2 separate regions of the Homo sapiens genome follow, and region 2 is linked to region 1. Evidence: promoter capture Hi-C in human tissues and cell types (Jung and others, 2019). All regions are on one chromosome and are shown on one strand. Each heading gives the region's core, a stretch centred on a gene start or on the middle of the fragment in contact. The rest is flanking DNA. Distances are from core to core; before and after follow the strand shown. Region 1 holds the start of CDC20 (cell division cycle 20). Region 2 overlaps RNF220 (ring finger protein 220).

Region 1 (5,362 bases), core at 1,049-3,548:
TTCCATTGCCTTCCTTCATTCATTTATTATTATTATTATTTTGAGACAAAGTCTCCCTCTGTCACCCAGGCTAGAGTGCAGTGGCGCGACCTCGCTCACTACAACCTGCGCCTCCCAGGTTCAAGCGATTCCCCTGCCTCAGCCTCCCAGGTAGCTGGGATTACAGGTGTGCACCACCACACCTGGCTAATTTTGTACTTCTAGTAGAGACAGGGTTTCGCCACATTGGCCCGACTAGTCTTGAACTACTGACTTCAAGTGATCTGCCCGCCTTGGCCTCCCAAAGTGCTGGGATTACAGGAGTGAACCATGACAACCTGCCCAAATCCTTTATTTTTAAATGTACAAATTCCCTGAGGCTATACCCTTTATCCTTCTCTATAGCTACCACCAGAAGTTGCAAATTATTGCCATATCCCCCCCCTCAGATGTTTTATTTGGTCCTTCCCTACACAGAAACCCCACAGGTACCACAATGCCTAGCAGATGAAGTCCAAAGTCTTTAGCTTAACATTTAAGACCCTGACCAACTTGACATGAGACAACCTTTTCTATGTTTTCTGGGAATTCCCCACCTCTAACCTAAGCATATCCAATTCCTTATTTTCCAAGGTAATTGGAAATAGAGAATGCAAAGGCTTCAAGTCAAAGATAATAACATTATCTGTAAGCATCGGAGTGGACTTTAAGCTAATGACTGAAAATGATTTTTCCAGCCTCTTTCTGGGACAGTATAGCGTATTGTTTAGATTGCAGGGATTAGTCAGATAGTTTGAATCCTGGGCTCCCCTACTTATTATTGGCTGCATGCCTTTGGGCAAGTTTCTAATCTTTCTGACCCAGTTTCTTTTTTCTGTAAAGGGAAGATGGGGTATCTATCTGCCTTATGGGATTAAGGATTGAACTCGATAATGTATGTAAACTTTTTTTTTTTTTTTCAGACAGAGTATCGCTCTGTTGCCCAGGCTGGAGTGCAGTGGCTCGATCTCGGCTCACTGCAAGCTCCGCCTCCCGGGTTCACGCCATTCTCCTGCCTCAGCCTCTCGAGTAGCTGGAACTACAGGCGCCCGCCACCAAGCCCGGCTAATTTTTTGTATTTTTAGTAAAGACGGGGTTTCACCGTGTTAGCCAGGATGGTCTCGATCTTCTGACTTCGTGATCTGCCCGCCTCGGCCTCCCAAAGTGCTGGGATTACAAGCGTGAGCCACCGCGCATGGCCTGTAAATTGTTTTAACACAGTAGTTAGATGGTCCATAAATGGTACCATTATTACTTTTATGATTGCTGCTCCACCTCTGAGCACATTCATACAATTCACTCAAGTCATTATTAGAGCACTAGATTGAGTGCGAGTCAGACCTGGATTCCCACAAACTTCTTTGTATGACCTCGGGCACATCCCTTCCCTGGGCCTCCGTTTCTCCATCTGTAAAATATGGATTTGTTGTCGGGGTGGGGAGGCTGCACCACGCACAGGTTAGACTAATGGATCTCTAAGGTCCTCACATCTTTAAAGCCCCAAGGGGATAAGCCACAGTGCCTCCTGTAGGGCAGTCTAAGCTTATCTTCCAGATAGGCAGGTTTGAATACCGATCCTTTTTCTTGACCTTAAGGAATTCATTCACCCTTTTCAACCTCATTTTCCCTGTTTGTAAAACAACAGCAAACGAGACAAACACACGTTACTTCCTTTCTAGCAGGGTTCCTACCCGGCGCCAAGCAAAAGTGGAATGTACCCTAAGTAGCTCTGGCCTTCTTCCTGCTCCCAAGCTTCCCAATTCCGTCCCCTGCCCCGCTGCCGCCCGCGGCTCTCCTTCCCCTTCTAGGAACGGCTCAAGCGCCTTGGGCACTCCATCGGGTTCTGCACCGAGTTCTGCATCATAAATACGACTCTCGTGTAGGATTTAAGTGTGAACTTCTGCAGGTTCTCGGACCCTGAAGCACCCGGGGCCAGACATTCCGAGCTCGCGGCGGTGGAAGGCACGCAAAAGGGCGAACCGAGACGACTCCAGGACGCTGAGGCAGCGCAGGCCCCACCCGGCCCCGCCCTGCCCCGCCCTGTCCCGGCCGGCTTTCCAGTACTAGTCCTCTGGCGCCGGCTCCCAGCCCCTCTCGTACCCTTCAAATCGCGCTCCGCCGCTAGACTCTCGTGATAGCTGAGACTTTCCCCGGAAGGCCCGCCCCCTTCGCCGGAGAGGCCAATGGGCTAGGGCAACGGTTGCGACGGTTGGATTTTGAAGGAGCCAATAGGCGCTCGGAGCGGAGAGTTTAAGAGGCGTAAGCCAGGCGTGTTAAAGCCGGTCGGAACTGCTCCGGAGGGCACGGTGAGAGGTGGTGGGGCTGAGCCGAGGTGGGGCCGTGGCCAGGGGGAGGGGGTGCTAGGCCGGAAGGGGCTGCAGCCGAGGGTGGCCCTGATTTTGTGGCCGGCCAGGAGCGAAGGGGTCCCTTTCTGTCCCCTGAGCACCGTCGCCTCCTTTCCTCCAGGGCTCCGTAGGCACCAACTGCAAGGACCCCTCCCCCTGCGGGCGCTCCCATGGCACAGTTCGCGTTCGAGAGTGACCTGCACTCGCTGCTTCAGCTGGATGCACCCATCCCCAATGCACCCCCTGCGCGCTGGCAGCGCAAAGCCAAGGAAGCCGCAGGCCCGGCCCCCTCACCCATGCGGGCCGCCAACCGATCCCACAGCGCCGGCAGGACTCCGGGCCGAACTCCTGGTCAGTGAGGTGCCAAAGGAACTGAGTGAGAGCAGCCTTCATACTTTCTCCCTGGGGAGCCTGGTCAGACTGTCTTCTCTTTCTCCGCCCCAGGCAAATCCAGTTCCAAGGTTCAGACCACTCCTAGCAAACCTGGCGGTGACCGCTATATCCCCCATCGCAGTGCTGCCCAGATGGAGGTGGCCAGCTTCCTCCTGAGCAAGGAGAACCAGCCTGAAAACAGCCAGACGCCCACCAAGAAGGTATGTGTCCCAGAGGGGCTTAAGGCACGGGACCTGACTGTTCTTTGGATAATACCATCTTGCTCCTTCACTACCCTTTATGCCAGGAACATCAGAAAGCCTGGGCTTTGAACCTGAACGGTTTTGATGTAGAGGAAGCCAAGATCCTTCGGCTCAGTGGAAAACCACAAAATGCGCCAGAGGGTAAGACCCGAAGTTCCTGGTTCCTGGAGGGAGGTGTCAGTTCATCTCCAGGGCTGAGCACAGATATCTGTCTCCTCTTCCTATCTAAGATTGAGGGCAAGGGAGGTGTTGATTTTCCCAGCGTCTAGACTCACTCCGTTGCCACAGGTTATCAGAACAGACTGAAAGTACTCTACAGCCAAAAGGCCACTCCTGGCTCCAGCCGGAAGACCTGCCGTTACATTCCTTCCCTGCCAGACCGTATCCTGGATGCGCCTGAAATCCGAAATGACTATTGTAAGTGCATCCTTATCCTCGCCTCATGCATGGAGAAAGAGGGCCTGGGACCACACAAACAAGGAAGCTCATGCTCTTCTCTCCACCTCTGACAGACCTGAACCTTGTGGATTGGAGTTCTGGGAATGTACTGGCCGTGGCACTGGACAACAGTGTGTACCTGTGGAGTGCAAGCTCTGGTGACATCCTGCAGCTTTTGCAAATGGAGCAGCCTGGGGAATATATATCCTCTGTGGCCTGGATCAAAGAGGGCAACTACTTGGCTGTGGGCACCAGCAGTGCTGAGGTGCAGGTGAGACGTGTCCAGTGCTGTCATTCTCACCAGTCCCAATGGGCTTGCACAGCTGGAGGATATTAATGCCAAGTCCCAATCTCTGATCCTAGTGGGCTTCTCTCTCTAGCTATGGGATGTGCAGCAGCAGAAACGGCTTCGAAATATGACCAGTCACTCTGCCCGAGTGGGCTCCCTAAGCTGGAACAGCTATATCCTGTCCAGGTCAGTGGTTTTTGTTGGTCTATGGTAGTCTGATATTTGCCCACCCTCCCCTTGACTGTACACCCCTGAACTGAACCAGCTCTGGCTTGCTTGCATTTGGTGCTGCCACAGAACCTGATTCCCTTCTTTCCTCCTCCAGTGGTTCACGTTCTGGCCACATCCACCACCATGATGTTCGGGTAGCAGAACACCATGTGGCCACACTGAGTGGCCACAGCCAGGAAGTGTGTGGGCTGCGCTGGGCCCCAGATGGACGACATTTGGCCAGTGGTGGTAATGATAACTTGGTCAATGTGTGGCCTAGTGCTCCTGGAGAGGGTGGCTGGGTTCCTCTGCAGACATTCACCCAGCATCAAGGGGCTGTCAAGGTGAGTAGGGTTGGGCTGAAGCCTCTGCAGACCCTCACCTATAATCTGGGGACTGTTAAGGGGAGAAGGGATGGTAGGATTGGACTGGGTTAATCTGTGACCCCTAGAGCTCCTTGTCTGGCTCTAGTACCTGCTGACCCCACCTTTATTCCATCTAGGCCGTAGCATGGTGTCCCTGGCAGTCCAATGTCCTGGCAACAGGAGGGGGCACCAGTGATCGACACATTCGCATCTGGAATGTGTGCTCTGGGGCCTGTCTGAGTGCCGTGGATGCCCATTCCCAGGTAATCTTTTGCCTGTTCCTGCCTCTCCCACATGCATTCTTACCGGGCAACTACATTCACTCCAATGGCTTCACCAACTCTATGCCCTGGTGATTCCCAAACTTCTAACTCAGCTCTCACTCATGAGCTTCATTTCCAACAGTCTGTGGCTATCTCCAATCCTATGTCCTATAGGCACCACCACCTTGATCTGTCCCAAATTAACCTTGTCACTTCCCCTTGCCTCCCTGAAATGTGTTCCTTCCTGTCTCACATTGCTTTGGAATGGCAGAACCTGCTCAGAAATCTGAGAAACCTCCTAGAATTTTTCATCCTCCTCACCAGGATCTATCAGTTTTACCTCAAAATATCATTGACATCTGTCCCCTCCCCTCAGCCTCATCCTTCCAAGTGGAGGCCCACTACAATGGCTTCCTCACTGGTGTCAAGCATTCTTTGTTATCTCCTGCAATGCATCCTCCATGCTGTGGTCTGTTATACTGTACTGTCCTTAAACCTGTGATGGCTTCCCATCACTTATGGCATATAATCCAAATCCATTAGAAAGATACTTGAGGCTCTCTCCTTCCACTCCCCCCACATTCAGCCTTCACTGTAGATATGGACTCTAGAGCCAGATGGCCCAAGTTAAAATTCTGGCTCTGTCATCTACTAAACTTGAATGTGACCTTTGGCAACCTATTGAACTTCCTTCTGATTGATTCCTCATCTATCCAATGGATAATACAGATGCTCCCTGATTTAAGTCCCAGTAAACCCACTGTAAAGGTAAAAAATGGTTACATCAGCGAGTGTCTAT
Region 2 (5,362 bases), core at 701-3,200, 1.1 Mb after region 1:
ACCTGCCTTGTAAATCCATCGCTCTTTGGTTTTGAAATATGTTGCAAGTGTGTCTTTTATGTCAGCCTCTGTAAGCCGGAGACCTCCCCACTTAAGGGAGAAGGCTGCTGGCTGACAGCACTACTGCTAGTGTTGCCCTCTCACTTTGGCTTTGGTTCTCTTTCACCTTTTCAGTTTCTGTTGACTTGTGTGTCTTGTGATCCTGCTTCTTGGATATACCTGCTGAACAGGTATCGGCATTGTGTTGGTTCATTTGATTTTATTTTAGTTTTCATTTGTCCAGTGATGTGCAAGTGATCAAGGCTAGTTATAATGTGACCTCCAGCCAAAACTGCCTTGTGTTAGGGTGTGACAGATTCCGCCCCTTTTTTTCTCCAAATACAAGTTGAAAATGAAATCTTCTCTTAGCTAATATGCCACAAAGTAACATCTGGAGATTGAGATCTCTTTCTTCTTACCTAACAGATCCAGCTTGTCTCCATTTTTCTATCTTTTTAGCCCAAACCTGTATCCGACTCCAGAGCAGGAGGAAGCTTGTTAGTCAAGTCAGAACTCATAGACGTGGATATCCATTCCCCTCTGAGTGTCAAAGCCATAACTCTTCTGTTTGCCTGGTTTGCATTGTGTGGTGGTGGCATCCCCCATGGAGATGGATCCCTCACACAGGAGTACGCCTGGGTGGAGAAAAATTAAATGAGTCTGTCTCCCAAAGTGAAATGGAATTCTGACCTTGAAATTAATGAGATTCTGATCAGAAGGGTGGGGAAACTTCTTTATTTCCAATGCGGTGTTATACAAATTGGAGTCCCTTTCCTCTTTTATTCATTTAAAATAGTCTTCCCTTATAGAGTACCCTGTGTTCTCCTTTTTTTTTCTTGTACACAAGCATAAAACCTATAGGAGTGTCTGTGAGGGGAGGGTGTTCGTACACCCTCGTTATTATCCAGAGTTGCATTTGTGACTAATCTTTAATAAAAAACAAAGGTGCAAAGTGAAAAGGAGGCTGTGCTACCCTGTGGTCACCCTGGAGTTGTGCTTTTTACTCCCTTCCTTACCTTAGGTGGTTAGCACATCCCTCACTGGGTCATACTAGATAGCGTTTGTGCTTTTGATTGCGAATTTTTGGAAGGCAGGAGAAGTATTTTTCTGTAAGGAAGGGTTGAAGAGGCACTAAGACAAAGTCTGCAGCAGCTTTCTTGGCTCCTGTCATATGCCGACGTGTGTCGGAATATTTATGGTCTGTTTTATGTAAATACATATTTAAGGGTCGTTAGAAGGCCTGATTATTCCCACTAGATGCCTTTCAGGTCCTCCCTACAGAACCGTTTTGAAATAAGTAATATTTCTCAGATAATCGAGTGACAGTATACAAGACTGCTTCCAAAGGGAGAGAAAGCTTCAGGGGCAGATGGGGGCAGTGACGGGGTATGGGGATATGAAAAGACAGAGGATAGAAAGTGTTCAGACGAGCAGAGTGATAGGATACAGTGCTTTCGCCAGATTGCCCAAATTAACCATATATGGTTGATATACACACACACACACACACACGTGTATATATGTATATATATTTATTCTTAAAATTTAGAGTTAATTGCTGATATGGTTGACTCATTTTTCAGTTCTCTTCATATAAATATCTTTTCATAAAATATTTTTTAAATGTTTTAATTAAGTGCAGCAGTCAAACTCCGAAGTAAGCATTTAGCTTTAGAGTTTTGTTGGTGGGTGGGGGTGGGAGATGAGAATGGTGGTGTGTGTCCTTTACTTAGAGCAGAAGTTTTTATGACTGAGTTTTAGGTCATTAAGAAATCAGTTGTATAATGGAAACACTGACAGTTTTTACTGCTGCAGCCACCCCCTGCTCACACACTACATCAATCTGCAGATATGTCCACTTGTGAGCCCACTGGAAAGAGAGGCCTGCAGACATGGTGTAATGCACACATGTTCTTTCCTTAAATCTGGGTACTGGTAGGCAGGATTTCTTTTGTGGTTAAACATGCATTTTTATAGACAGAAATATAGCGATTTGGGTCAAGCATCATCTTTCCTGATAGATGATTCTGGTTTGCTTGCCTGTCCATCCACCTGGCTTCACAGGTGATTCCTGAGGGAGGTGTTGTGCTCTATGGAAAAACAAGCAGCCTTTACTCTGCAGGACTGACTTACTTGCCCTGGAAAATGGGAGAAGTGTTTTGTGAGAAGCCATTCATGGAGGATGCATAATTCCCCAGGAAGGAGACTGAGGTAACTCCTGCTTATTGTCACTCCTTGAATCAGTCCCCAAGACTCATTGTCCAGGGAAATAATGCTAAAATTTACGGACCAATTACAAGTAGTTCACGTGTGCTTTACATATGAAATGTCTACAGCCATGTTTCCCAGGGCCTTTAAAATAAACATTTCCTCATTAAGGAAACTTCACAACAAAAGGGAAGATAAGTATTGTCTGCTGTCTTGTGTTAGAATCTGTACATTTATTACCCCCTTAGCACTCTGGCTCCTGTCATGTGCATATCCTGATGGTCCTCTTCAGGCTGCCCCTGTGCCCAGATTCCTGCCTGTGTGACACAGTCTTTGGCCAGCCTGCCAGCCTATCCACTCAGCCCAGATTGGAGTTGGCGAAGTATACATGCTCACCACAGGGCTGAGAGGGCCCAGAACTGCCCGCGTGGAGCGGCGACTGGCCCTGTCTTCTGGCTTACCCCAGGGATGGACCCTGGGCACTGACCACACGTGGCTTGGCTTTGCCCTCTTTCCTTGACCTTCACTGTGGTCGGGCAGAGTCACAGGTAGGCAGGAAACCTGATGGCTCACAGCAGCTCCTGGATGTTCTGCTTTGCTCTCATCTTTGATGTACTTGAACAGCCATTCTTGGGTCCCAAAAGCCCTGAGTAGGAGATGGTATTTTGTACTCTGTGTCTTTATATAAAGGCATGTATCATTGAAGACCCTGTGTTCTAACAATCAAATCAGCTGAGCCCACCTAGGCCAAAGGCAGCCTGGAATGGGGAGGGCTGGGGTGAGGGGGGATACTTTCCAAGGGCTCTGGGACTGGGGTGGGCAGGGACTCTACACTGGGCTTTTAGGAGAGTTGTTCTTGCTAGGGAGAATGTTTGGGGCATGCCAGGTGGCCAGGCTGCACCTCTGGGTTGCAGCTGGGACAGATGACCACTGGGAAAGGGTCAGCAAATCGCCAGAAGACCTGGGTCAGATGCTTCCCTCTGTCCTGACTGCCCAGACCTAGCCTGACTCTCCCTCAGCTGCTCCCGGGTTCTCCCCTACTCCCCGGGGGCAAGAACTCCTGTGATGTGTGTGGTTGTTTCTGGTTGTTCACTCCCAACACAGTCATGGAGACTCTTTTTCATGCTGCTGGGTTTAATTGTCTTGTTGGGATAAAGAAATGTTTGCACAGCTAAAGTGGGGCCAGGCTGGACGGGAGCAGTCCCTGATGGCTGCAGAGCCATCTGGCCTGGCTTGGCTTGGCTCGGCGCGCCGCTCGCCTGGCGGCTGGGCTCGCTGTAGTTGTGCTCCCGCTCTTCCCCTGCCCTCGCTCCACGCCGCGCCGCTCTGTGCGGCGGCTGCCTCCTCTTACGGCCGGAATGCCTAATCACCATGGTGAGAAAACGGACACCGCAGCCGTCCTCCCTCCTCGCCCCGCGCCCTCCCTCCCATCAATTGTCATGCAGAAGTGATCCGGGCTGCCGTTTTCTCGCGGCCGCCCGCCAGCCCCTCGCCGCTGCCGGCAGAAGGGTGGCTGGTAATTGATCTTCTGGGGGAGGGGGCGCGGAGAGGCGCGAGAACTGGCCCCGGGGAGGCCAGGCCACGGGGTGGGCCCCGTTCGCTTACTTGCAAGGGACCCCCAGCCTCCGCCACCGAGGCGGCTTGCAAGTGGTTTCAGAAATGTTGGTGATCTCGCCGTCGCTCTGCAGCACTTGGAGGCCGCAGGAGGACTCCGCGCGCCGCCTCGAGGGCCGGGAGCGCCCAGCCCGCGGCCGCACACACGAGGGCCCGTCGCGCCCCCCGCCCTGCCCCGCCTCGCCCTCCACGTCCCTGCACCCCCAAGTCGCACTAAGAACCCAGTCCCCGATCGGTTTCCTCTACGCCGTCTGAGCAGAAGAGAGTGGGAACCGGGGTGACGGATAAGGGGGGGGCGCCCACGCGACGTCGGGGTGCATGGGAGCGCGCGGGAGGCGCTAGTGGGTGCACGGGGCGTGAGGGGGACACAGCGCGGGCGTGGGGATGGCCACTGCGCGGGGAGGGTTCTGCCTGGAGAAGGAGGGATGGGAGGAGGTTGGGGGAGCAGGGCGCGTGGAGGAGGGAGGTTGGACGTGTGTACAGCGCCTGGGGACCTCGCTGGCCCCTTGGTGCCCCCAGGACTCTGAGGCTTCTCCTTTCGGCTTGAAATGTTTTTCCCTTCCTGCTTTTCAAATCTGTAAAAATGTTCCGGGGAATGTTTCCGAAGTCCAGGGCTCCGTCCTTCGGCGGGATTGCTGGCATTCGGGCAAGGCGAGTCGCGGTGGCCTCTGAGGCTCGCAGCCAGCACAGCGGGGCTCGTTAAAGTCTGGGCAATTTCTGGAACTCTTCCCACGGGAAGTTTTCCGGGGCTGCCTTCCGGTCAGCGGCCCCAGGTTGATTATTTGGTGGCCCTTTTTTGTTTGAAAACAAAAAAAAAAACACACACACATTGTATCCAAATAACAAAAGTTGCTGTCCCTCCCCACCCCCTTTCCTCATTAGGCAGGGAAGAGGAAACTGAAAAATAGAATTATATTTTTATATTGGTTTTCTTATTTTTAACCCTTATTAACTACATCCATCTGGTTAATAAATATTGGCACACATTGAAATGTATTCTTTGTAAATAATTGAGATTTGGAGTGACAGCATATTTAATGGAGTTATATTTTTATAATAGTTTTTCTTATTTTTAACTCTTATTAACCACATCCATGTGGTTAATAAATATCGAAGCACACCTTGGGACGTGCTCTTTATAAATACTTGAGATTTGGAGTGATGGTACATTGCATTGTAAAATCCACAGGATTTTTAAACACCAAAATAGCAATATTGTTTGGACTTGCATATTTGCTGCTAAGAGTTTAACAGCATTTCCCAGTGCCATTTTATCCCGTCTTAAAGAGAGATGAACTGCAGACTTAAGGATAATTTATTGCTATATATTAGCTAAAATGCCTTTAAAAATTTTTTTTAAGTATCATTTAAATTGTGGCATGTATGGTTGAACAGAATGTGTTGTTATCCTTTGTAACTTCACATGTGTGCTACAGGGTAGGAATTTGTAAGTATCTCTTTCTTTGCAGCAAGAAGAATTTTCTGCGAAAGAACCTTCTTA

The links. Contacts are between HindIII fragments. The study calls those that stand out against the background at their distance.
Region 2: a fragment that was not itself captured here is called in contact with the fragment with the promoter of CDC20 in region 1 in 1 of the 25 tissues and cell types used here (hippocampus).

The regions. Positions count from the first base shown.
Region 1 is chr1:43,356,683-43,362,044 of GRCh38, forward strand. CDC20 (cell division cycle 20) reads left to right here and starts at 2,299. Exons shown (of 11, transcript NM_001255.3): 1 at 2,299-2,324; 2 at 2,485-2,714; 3 at 2,808-2,956; 4 at 3,043-3,139; 5 at 3,287-3,415; 6 at 3,511-3,707; 7 at 3,817-3,911; 8 at 4,051-4,279; 9 at 4,438-4,563. The coding sequence starts at 2,534. CDC20-DT (CDC20 divergent transcript) reads right to left here and starts at 1,991. Exons shown (of 4, transcript NR_183650.1): 1 at 1,868-1,991; 2 at 1,360-1,426; 3 at 1,121-1,218. RefSeq lists enhancers at 1,068-1,576, 1,688-1,747, 2,087-2,595 and silencers at 2,038-2,147, 2,338-2,487. The HindIII fragment of the contact is 17,818 bases long and covers 1-5,362 here.
Region 2 is chr1:44,413,974-44,419,335 of GRCh38, forward strand. The region is part of intron 2 of RNF220 (ring finger protein 220); the gene reads left to right. Among named protein-coding and RNA genes, the nearest start is that of RNF220, 11 kb to the left of the region's middle. RefSeq lists a silencer at 1-70. The HindIII fragment of the contact is 3,748 bases long and covers 77-3,824 here.